Linked DNA regions of Homo sapiens: region 2 is linked to region 1. The links are contacts of gene promoters, found by promoter capture Hi-C in human tissues and cell types (Jung and others, 2019). All regions are on one chromosome and are shown on one strand. Each heading gives the region's core, a stretch centred on a gene start or on the middle of the fragment in contact. The rest is flanking DNA. Distances are from core to core; before and after follow the strand shown.

What was found. The method cuts DNA at HindIII sites, captures the fragments that hold promoters and counts their contacts. A contact is called where the count stands out against the background at its distance.
Region 2: a contact is called between a fragment that was not itself captured here and the fragment with the promoter of BBOX1 in region 1, in 2 of the 25 tissues and cell types used here (aorta and mesenchymal stem cells).

What each region holds. Positions count from the first base shown.
Region 1 is chr11:27,037,873-27,042,995 of GRCh38, reverse strand. BBOX1 (gamma-butyrobetaine hydroxylase 1) reads right to left here and starts at 2,181. Exons shown (of 9, transcript NM_003986.3): 1 at 1,968-2,181; 2 at 1,518-1,780. The HindIII fragment of the contact is 6,644 bases long and covers 1-3,802 here.
Region 2 is chr11:26,748,283-26,753,405 of GRCh38, reverse strand. No RefSeq gene overlaps it. Among named protein-coding and RNA genes, the nearest start is that of SLC5A12, 29 kb to the right of the region's middle. The HindIII fragment of the contact is 6,078 bases long and covers 1-5,123 here.

The sequences.
Region 1 (5,123 bases), core at 932-3,431:
TCAGCTTTGGAGAGAAAGGGCAAGAAGTTTTCTAGACATTACACCATGAAGGCTTAACTACATTGTTATTATTTTATATTTTAACCTTTAAATAACAAAATCAATTAATTTTTACTTGGTAAGGTGGAGGTTGACCAGACAATATTTGTAGTGCCTGCAGTTTGACATCATTTGAGTACATACATACTCTACTCAAGACACCTGCTACCTAAGGTTCTTCAACTTGAAATCTTTTTAAAATTATAAAATGGTTATTATTATTATTTTTAAACTTGGTTTAATAAGTGGCTGAGATACTTAACAATTTGTGAATATATTCTCATGTGAATAATGAATTCTATAAAGCAATTAGAAGCCAGGTACAGTGGCCTGTAATCCCAGCACTTTGGGAGGCCGGAGCAGAAGGATTGTTTGAGGCCAGGAATTTGAGACCAGCCTGGACAATATAGTGAGACCCCCATATCTACAAAAGAAAATTAGGCAGGCATGGTGGTGCATACACATACTCTGAGTTACTTGGGAGGTTAAGACAGGAGAATCGCTTGAACCCAAGAGTTTGAGATTACAGTGGGCTGTGATTGCATCACTGCATTCCAGCCTGGATGACAGAGCAAGACCCCATCTCAGCAACAATAACAACAAAAATAATGCCATTAGAAAAACCAGTGCATTCTCTAAAATAGGTTCACAATTCTGCCTGTCTTGCTTAAGGCATTAAATTTCATGCAAACACTTCATTTGTAAATTATACAAAGGAAAACTTTAGCTTCACTTTAGTGGAATCACCATTTTCAGATTGGAAATCAAATTATCAAGGCTTTGTTTTCTGATGTAATGCAAAGTACTGGGTTTAGATTTTAGGAAAATTTCTAAATTATTTAAACCAGAACATATATTCATTATGAGAAACCTTACGTTTTTAATCAAATCCATACCTGTAATATACCTTCTTGAGCTTCGTTAAGGGAACAAAACAATTGAAGATGTGCATAGTGGCTTTAATTGGCCAGCATTTTAAAGAGGCATGTTATAGTCAGCTTTTTGAGCTTAACAAAGAGCTAGGGTATCATATGCAGTCACCATTCTTTGGGATGGGTTGTGGATTATTCAGGGAACATTTTGAAAATCCAACCAGAATCCTCCTTGCCCCATCCCCAGTCTCTTTTTAGACAGCGTTCTCTCTGTCTCTTCTGTTTACTTTCTGGATCAGCTTAGGGATTATAAAGTAATTTGACTATCAGACTAAGCCAAACATAATTGGGAAAGAGAAGCTGCCAAGAAGCAATCAGATCCACTGCATTCCAAAACCAAGCCTATTCTAAATGCTTGATGGACCATCCCCAGCACAGCCCACATGACTGTGAGCTACATGTGAATGGAGTTCTAATTGGATGCTCCCCACCACCTCAGTCCACAGACTTGAATTCACAAACCCTTGCAATAAGGAGAAAAGGAAGATGAGCTCAATCATACCTGTTCTCAGATATGCTTTACACAGCAAACCACCCAAAACTTACCAAGTAAAGAAACTGTCAGCTTTGGTCCTTAGATCCTTTGGAGAGGGAGCATTCTGGTGCCCGTCACATCCCAGGAATGATCTGTCCCCAGTTTCCAATCTGATGTGGTACTTTTTCTTGGAAGCCTTTTTGCTCCTGGCAGTTTCACTGTGGCCCTGCCCCCAGACACAGCTGAGGTTTGTAAATGAGGAAGGATGTCTCAATCTGAAGGTGTAGCAACTACTGAAGGGAGCTTGGAGGTTTTTTGTCTTTGTTTTTTTGTGCTGTGTTTTTTTTAAAAAAAAAAAAAAAAAAGAAAGAAAAGAGGCTTTATGGCCTAGAGGGGAAGCAGTTAGCAAGAGAAAATACTTTGAGTACTGTTGGTTCCCAAAACCACAAAACCCCAGGACTCAATGCAAAGCATTGCCTCAGTTTGGAATCTTTCTTGATAGAAGGAAAAGCAGTTCTCACCTGTCTTACCTTCTATTTCTGTACCAGCAGTGGCAACAGCAGCAAGTGAACAAGCAGTTCACTTCTTTCCCACCTGTTCAGAGTGACAGCTCATTTATTGCACAACTCACTTAGGGCAGAGGCATTGAGATGGGCATTTAACAGGGAGGAGCTACCAGCGCTCACCCTAGCAGAGGTGAAGTGGTATCTACTTGTCAACAGAGTATTCCAATATGAGCCTCTTTAAAGGGAGCTTGAGTAGTTATCAGGGACTGGTAGAAAGACAGGGATTGGTCCCCTAAGCTTGATGCCCTCCTTTCTCTGCAATTTTGGCTGGAATAGGAAGTAGTTTCCAGAGAGCTTGGGGCTGTTTTTGAAGGTACTTGGTTGCCCAGTGATTTGATTCACAACACACAGCCCTTAGGGCAACAAAAGGGAAAGGCCAGAATAGGCAGCATGCCAGCATTCAGAGCCTGACTGCCAGGCATACTCTTGGAGAGTGCCCAGTGTGGGGGAGACCCTGTTGGACTGGTCTCAGGTCCTAGGTCCTAACAGAGTCTAGATTACATTAAAAGAAAGTCTACAGGTGGAAACTAAGGTCCAGGAGAGAGACGCTTGAGTCATCTGCCCTCCTCCCACCTAACACCCTCTTCCTAGGCAGATGTAGAAGCAGCCTGCAACTTGTTGCTTCTTGCCCGAAGGATTCGCAGGGCTGTGAGTGAGACTCAGTCAAAAAAGAACAAGAGGTAGCCACACAGAGAGAAAATGCAGCCCAACTGTCTGGTGGCCTCCTTTATGGGAAATCTCCCCTTCCAGAATGTCAGCATCCCCTCCCTAAACGATGTTTTTTCAGATCCTTTAACAATAAAATTTAAACTGTTTCCCTGCATCTGAAGAAAGGAACCTCTTTTCCACTTTCCTCCTTTCTTCCCCCAAGTCTCCAGGTCAAATTACTGACACCCACTGGCCAGTGAAAACAACAGCAGGTTTTGTTTTCCATGTATGAGAGGAGGGTGTGTATATGTGGGTGCCGTCATAAATGTGACCAGCATCTTAAACCCACGGTAACTGAAGTTATAAGTATGCCAAAAGCAATCAGATAATTATATTTTAATAATTCATGACATCACAGAAATATACACAATGAATTTTTCCTTTACACTTTGTACTTTAGTAACAATTACTGGAATAAATTAGGTAAATTCTGTTTCAGCTTTAAGAAAGTTGCTGACAAGAATGTGCCAGATATAAATAGTTTCTAATGGAATGATTAAATAGAACAAACAATAAATAAACCGACAAGTAAATCTGTTAATAAAGTTTAAAGACTTGCACATAAAGAATTGATTCTCAGAAACAGGTAAATAATCAAAACTCTGCTCTCCACTGTAAGAAGCTTCTTAAATGAACATGGGAGTGCAGCTATCTCTTTGACATACTTATTCTATATCCTCTGGATATATATCCAGAGGTAGGATTGCAGGATTATATGAGAGCTCTATTTTCAATTTTCTGAGGAACCACCATACTGTTTTCCATAACGGTTGTACCAATTTACATTTCCAGCAACAGTGTATGTATTATTCTATTCTCACACTGCTATAAAGACATACCTGACTGGGTAATTTATCAAGTTTACTGACTCATCGTTCTGCATGTCTGGGGAGGCCTCAGGAAACTTACAATCATGGAAGAAGGCAAGAGAGAAGCAAAGGCACATCTTACATGGTGGCAGGCAAGAGAGAGCAAATGAATGAAGGAAGAGCCCCTTATAAAAGCATCACATCTCGTGAGAACTCACTCACTATGACAAGAACAGTATGGGGGAAACCACTCCCATGATCCAATCACCCACCACCAGATCCTTCCCTTGACATGTGGGGATTATGGGGATTACAATTTGAGATGAGATTTGGGTGGGGACACAGAGCCAAACCATATTAGTATACAAAGATTCCTTTTTCTCTACATTCTCTTCAATACTCATCTGTTGTCTTTTTGATGAAAGCCATTCCAACAGTGTAAGGTAGTTTCTCATTGTAGTTTGCGTTTTAATTTACATTTCCATGATGATTAGTGATTTGACCATTTTTTTTTATATATCTGTTGGACATTTGTATGTCTTCTTTTGAGAAATGTCTATTCAGATACTTTGTCTATTTTTTAATCAGATTTTTTTTCTATTGAGTTGTTTGCTGTTGAGTGTTTCTTATATATTTTGGATACTCCTTGTCAGATGGATAGTTTACAAATATTTTTTCCCATTCCATAGATTATCTTTTTACCCTGTTGACTGTTGCTTTGGTTGTGCAAAAGCTTTTTGTTTTGATGCCACCTCATTTATTTGTACTTTTGTTGCCTGTGTTTGGGGTCATATACAAAAAACCACTGCCTAGACCAATGTCATTACAGCATTGTTCACAATAATCAATAAGGGGAATCAACCTGGGCTCATCGATCGATGAATGGATAAAGAAAATATATTATGTGTGTGTCTCTGTGTGTGTGTGTGTGTGTGTTTGTGTGTATGTAATGGAATTCTATTCAGCCCTGAAAAAGAAGGAAATCTTATCATTTGTGACAACATGGATGAGCTTGCAAGACACGTACTAAGTGAATTAAGGCAGGCACAGAAATATGAGCACTGCATGATTTCACTTAGAAGTGGCAACTAAAAAAGTCAAACTCATAGAAGCATAGAGTAGTATGGTGGTTGTCAGGGCATGAGAGTGAGGACAGGGGAGTGGCTAGATGATGGCCAAAAGGTACAAAAATTTAGTCATATAGGATTAATAAGTTCAGGAGACCTACTGTGCTACAGTTAGTAATAATATCTCATATACTTGAAAATGGCTAAGAGGCTAGATAGTAAATGTCCTCACAACATAGAATGATAAGTATATGAGGTGATGGATATGTTAATTAGCTTGATTTCATGATTTCACAGTATATACATACATTAAAACATCAAGTTGTACACCATAAATGTATATAATTTTTACCTGCCAACTATACCTTAATTTTTTTTACTTTAAGTTCAAGGTTACAGATGCAGCTTTGTTATATAGGTAAACTCATGTCATGGGGGTTTGTTGTACAGATTATTTTGTTACTCAGGTATTAGATCTAATACCCATTAGTTATTTTTCCTGATCCCCTCTCTCCTCCCATTCTCTA
Region 2 (5,123 bases), core at 1,425-3,924, 290 kb after region 1:
CCAGTTCCTGAAGGCTGCAGTTTTTGGAAACAAAAAATTCAAAGAAGTGAGTTTCTCTAACTTTCAATGCATCTGTAGCTGACTCCTCCTCTCCTCCTTCAAATTCAATTCTGAGAATTTGTGTTCTTATTGACTTATCATACTCAGACATCATACTAAGTTCTCCCTCTAAATATCCCCTGATATCTTGCCTCTTCAGTCATCTTTCTTTTATTTTGATTATTTTCTTCAGCAACTTCCTCCTAGTATACAAAGTACTAAAAACTCCATTATCCCTAAAATACAACAAAAGCAAAAAATATGACAAAACTAGTTTTGCTTCGTCCGATATTTTTCTTAAGCCACCATTCCTCCCAGTTTTTCTTCTTTCCCTTAGAAGCCTCTCAAGGGTCTAATTTACATTTCTGCCTTTCTGTGACTTTGAGGATGTGACTTAGACATGGAACTCAATTGGATACGTAAATTAAGATGTCCTCAATAGTGACACAGTATCTTAAGTAATCAGAATAAAAAGGCCATCCAGAAAATAAATATAGTTTGACAACAAAAGAGGGCCAGGGGCTAGAGGTTAAGAAACGCCTACCTGTAAGAGGCAGACAAAGAAAGCAGTGTCAGCATAGCAGCCCAGGTGGAACTTTGGAACATAGCCCTGTAAATACACTTGTGTTTTTGGCATCTTACTAAGGACAAAAGAAAAGAAAAGAAATAAAAATAAAATAGAAAGTAGTTGATGAAGAGGGGCTGAATGATGAAAGAACAAAGTGGATACAGCCAAGTACCAACAACGGTAGTAGAAGCACCAGTGTAAGTAGCAACAATAATAAATGCATTGATGGTTCTGTATATTGATCACACATTTTATACTAACCCTCTTTTAGGTGTTTGTACTCTTTTTCATTTAATTCTCACAGCAATCATCAAGATAAGTGTGATTTTTTTTTTTTTTGGTAGAGTTGAGGAGTCTGAAGCTCAGAGCACTTGTATTATTACTTTTAATGGCAAAAACCGCAATTAACTTTGAACTAGCCCAATATTTCCCAGTTTTACCAAACTAAGATGACAAAAGCTAGACTAGAATTCAGTCCCCTTTTCAACATTTCACACATCCCAAAAGATACAATATGTACACATACACACATATATATGTGTGTGTGGGTGTTATATGTGTGTGTGTGTGTGTATATGTATATAATATATATAATTGCAATATAATAAAATAAGCATAAATAAAATACATACTATGTAAATAAAGTAAATATATGTATAATGTTACATGTGTATAAATACATACGTAAATATAAACTATCTCCTTTTCCTTTGTCCCTCTCTTGACAAATGCCAAAGAAGACTCAGGCTAAAGCTTTATTCTCTCTTCCTGTCTCATTTTCTGTTGATTCCATTTTATTTCTATTTTGTGTTGATTTGCAGTTGTACTACTCTGAGAATAGTTCTTCATCTTCATTTGTGTTAAAAATCAAGTTTCCGAAAAATTACAAACCCTTTAGACAATCTTTTACCTCCCCTGATTCAACAGCCTGCCTCTAGAGCTGGGGTTCTTAGAAAGCATTCTACACATACGCTGCTTTTTTTCAAACTTTAATTTTACAGAAAAAAAAGGAGTGTATCAGTTTTCTATTGCTGCTGTAAGAACTTCAAGAAACTTAGTGGCTTAGATAATAAATTTATTATCTCACAATTCTCTAGGTCAAAAGTCTGAAATTGGTCCCACTAAGCTAAAATCAGCATGTCGCAGGTCACATTCCTTCTAGAGGCTCCAGGGAAGAATCTATTTCCTTGCCTTTTCCAACTTCTAGAGCCAATCTGTATTCCTTGGCTAGTGGGCCCTTTCTCCATCTTCAAAGCCACTGATGTCAGGCTAAGTCCTTCCCATGTCACCATCTCTCCTTTTCTCCCTGTTCTGCGTACCTCTTCTGCTTTTATAAGGACTCCAGTGATTCCATAAAGCCCTCTGGGATAATCTAGGATAATTTGCCTATCTCCAGTTTAATTTACCATCTTAATTCCATCAGCAATCTTAATTACTCTTTGCCATGCACCTTAACATATTCACATAGAATGTGGACATTTTTAGGGGGCTACTATTTTGGCTACCACAATGATGAGTTAAACAAGGCTCACAAGAATTAGTACAATGAAACTTATATTGTCTTTAATTATGACATCATGACATTTCTCTCAATATATCTATATTTATTGCTACACATAGATGAATACCATAATAATTATTTATGAAATTTTAAACAAATGACAGGCATTATGACCCTTCATACTTCAGAAAGTAGCTTCTAAGAACAAGGATATTCATTTATAATCGCAATGCAACTAGCAAGTTTAGGAAATTATCAATGATACAATACTATCATCTAATATACATATTTCAATAGTTCTTCCCAAACTATCCTTCACAGAAAAAAAAAATCCCACCCAGGATCAGTCATTGCATTTTGTTTTCATTCTTCTTCAATCTCCTTTCTCTGCTATGAAACTGACATTTTTGAAGAGTATAGGACAGTTTCTACAGGAAGTCCCTCAATGTGGGATTTTCTGATTTTTTTTTCCTCATGATGAGATTCAGGTGATGCATTTTTGGCAGAAATACCACATGAATGATGCTGTGTCATTTTAGTGCACTCCATCATGGGGCATGCATCTGGTATCAGGTTGGCCTGTAACGAATTGGTAATGTTAGCTTTGATTACTTGACTAGTGGTGTTTACCAAGTTTTTACACTGTATAGTTGTCATTTTTTTATTCATAAGTAATTAATAATCTGTGGTGAGACATTCTGAGACCAGAGAAATATTCTAATCCTGAGTCCATCAAAATTTCACCCATTGCTTTTAGCATACACTGTTGATTCTTGCCTCAGTTATTAGTAATAGCAATGGAAAAACGGGAATTAAAAAACCCAAATTCATTCTTTTTGACAGTGTTTATGGAAATACTTCCTCATGACCATATTGAATTATAGTTTATGGTAACTGAGCAAAGCCCATGAATATCTTCATCTCTCTAGAGTGTTGGGGACTCTGATTGTATTACAAATTTGATTCAGTATTATCTTGAAATGCTTGAGTGGAAGTCAGGCCATTAGAGTTTCTGGAGTTTCTTAGGTCTTTCATTTTACTAATTCTAAAACATATGGCCTCTGGCTGAGTACTTGATAATTGTTTGGAGTGATTGAGGCTCAATAAGTTTCTACTAATTTTATAATATCTCTCAATGCTGGGCTTACTAACATGGCAGACCCAAGAGATGATGCAATATCATGCCTGTCATTAAGAAACACATAATCTAGTTAGAGAAAATGATAAAAAAAAAAAAAAACAAGTATAGTTAGGAACAGTCTCTGAGATTCAGAACCTTTGTGAAAGAACTGTAGATTAATTGAGTCTTTAAAATTGAATAGGATTTTAATTGGAGGAGAAAACTAGGCTGGTGTTCAAGGTAATAGAAACTGCATAAACTACATGTGGAAGCAGAAAAGAAGACAGCACTGCTGGAGAAAAATTAGGGCAACTACTGAAGAGGAAGATTCATGTTGAAAATTAAAGAGAGGAATTATTTGTAGAAGTAAGATGATGCTAGCTACTGAAAGTTGTTGAAGTTTTAGACGAGATGTTTCACCTTAAAATGACAGATAGAGGTTCTTGAGCAAGATGAAAATGGTATTTTAAGAAAATTACACTGTATAGGTGTGCAGGATGGATTAGAATGGATGGGCACCTGCGGTAGAGAGATTGGTTAACAGGCACTGCAAAATGCTTTGTAAATTAGAATGCATGATGCAAAGGCTTATGAATGTGAGAGAAAGAACCATAATGAATGCCCTTGGGATGCAGAAGGTGGGGTGAGTTTAAGAGATTTCAGAGTAAGAGTCAAAGTAAGTTAGAAGGATATCTCAGCCTAACAGCTGAGGTTCACATCCAGTCTACTTCTGGCTCCTGGCAGACAGTAAGCACACACCATAACTTGGTTGTGTCTATTTTTAAAAAGGATGAAATTTGTATATGGGATAATTACTCAGGATTTCAGGATCTTCACATTGACTGTCCATGTATTATATTCCACCTTGTTCTAGAAAGAATTTCAGAAGGCTTATTAAGTGATTTGTGCAGCACAATAAAATATTGTAAATTAGCCTAGGTTAAATGTGGGCAAAGAAATAAAGAAAAACTGTAAAGGAGTGGATCTGAGACAGAAACATTTAAAAAGTCTAATTCTTCAAACTACAATAAGCAACACATTTAATATGGGTGTGAGCCAGAAATTTTGGTCTAAACTTTCTGGCAGTAATGTCAAAAGTGAACAACCTGACTATTAAGCCACAGCATCATGCAACAAAACCAGATGGATTACTAGATAAACTTTTAAGTAATCTTGGATTACTTAATTGAGAGGATAACGTCTTAATTGCATGTGTTTCAGGTGAAAATTATTTTTCTCTGCAACAAAATTCTCTCTCTCTTTCTTGACACCCTCCACCCCCACCCCATTAGACACAGATGCACACACAGAAAGAAATACCAAAGCTAATAGTAACTGAAGAATAGCTAATGTCCACATTTTCCCATATCAGGTAGTTTTGATGGATAATTTAACATTCCTTCCTCTGCCAAAAATAATTCCAGACAATATTCCCTTGATATACAAATATACAATTGATTATTTTGCACTTATTTTAGTGATGGGCTTGATAAAATTAAGAATTTATAGATAGGGTGATTAGGAGAAGAGAAGTGAGACAGAACAAAAATGAAATTTTCTTTTAGATTTTTACTATGATATAAAAACTTGTGAGCCAGTGTTTGACCTTGATTGTAATAAAGCTACATCATGAAGCTTAACTGAATCTGTTATAAGAAGTTACCTAAATTTGTCATGCAGATAATATTGTGTATCTAAGGAAATATTAGAAAACTCATGCAAGTCAAATGTGTAGGAAATCAAGTGCTGATGGAAATAACATTTAGAAATAAGAACACAATGTCATTTACAGTAAAGTATAATGAGCTGCTAAATTAGGTACTGTGGTCTCAAAAGAGCAAAGTATTTTTGAACAAACCCAAGCCAAAGTAAGTTCTCCAAATGAGAAAGGCTCA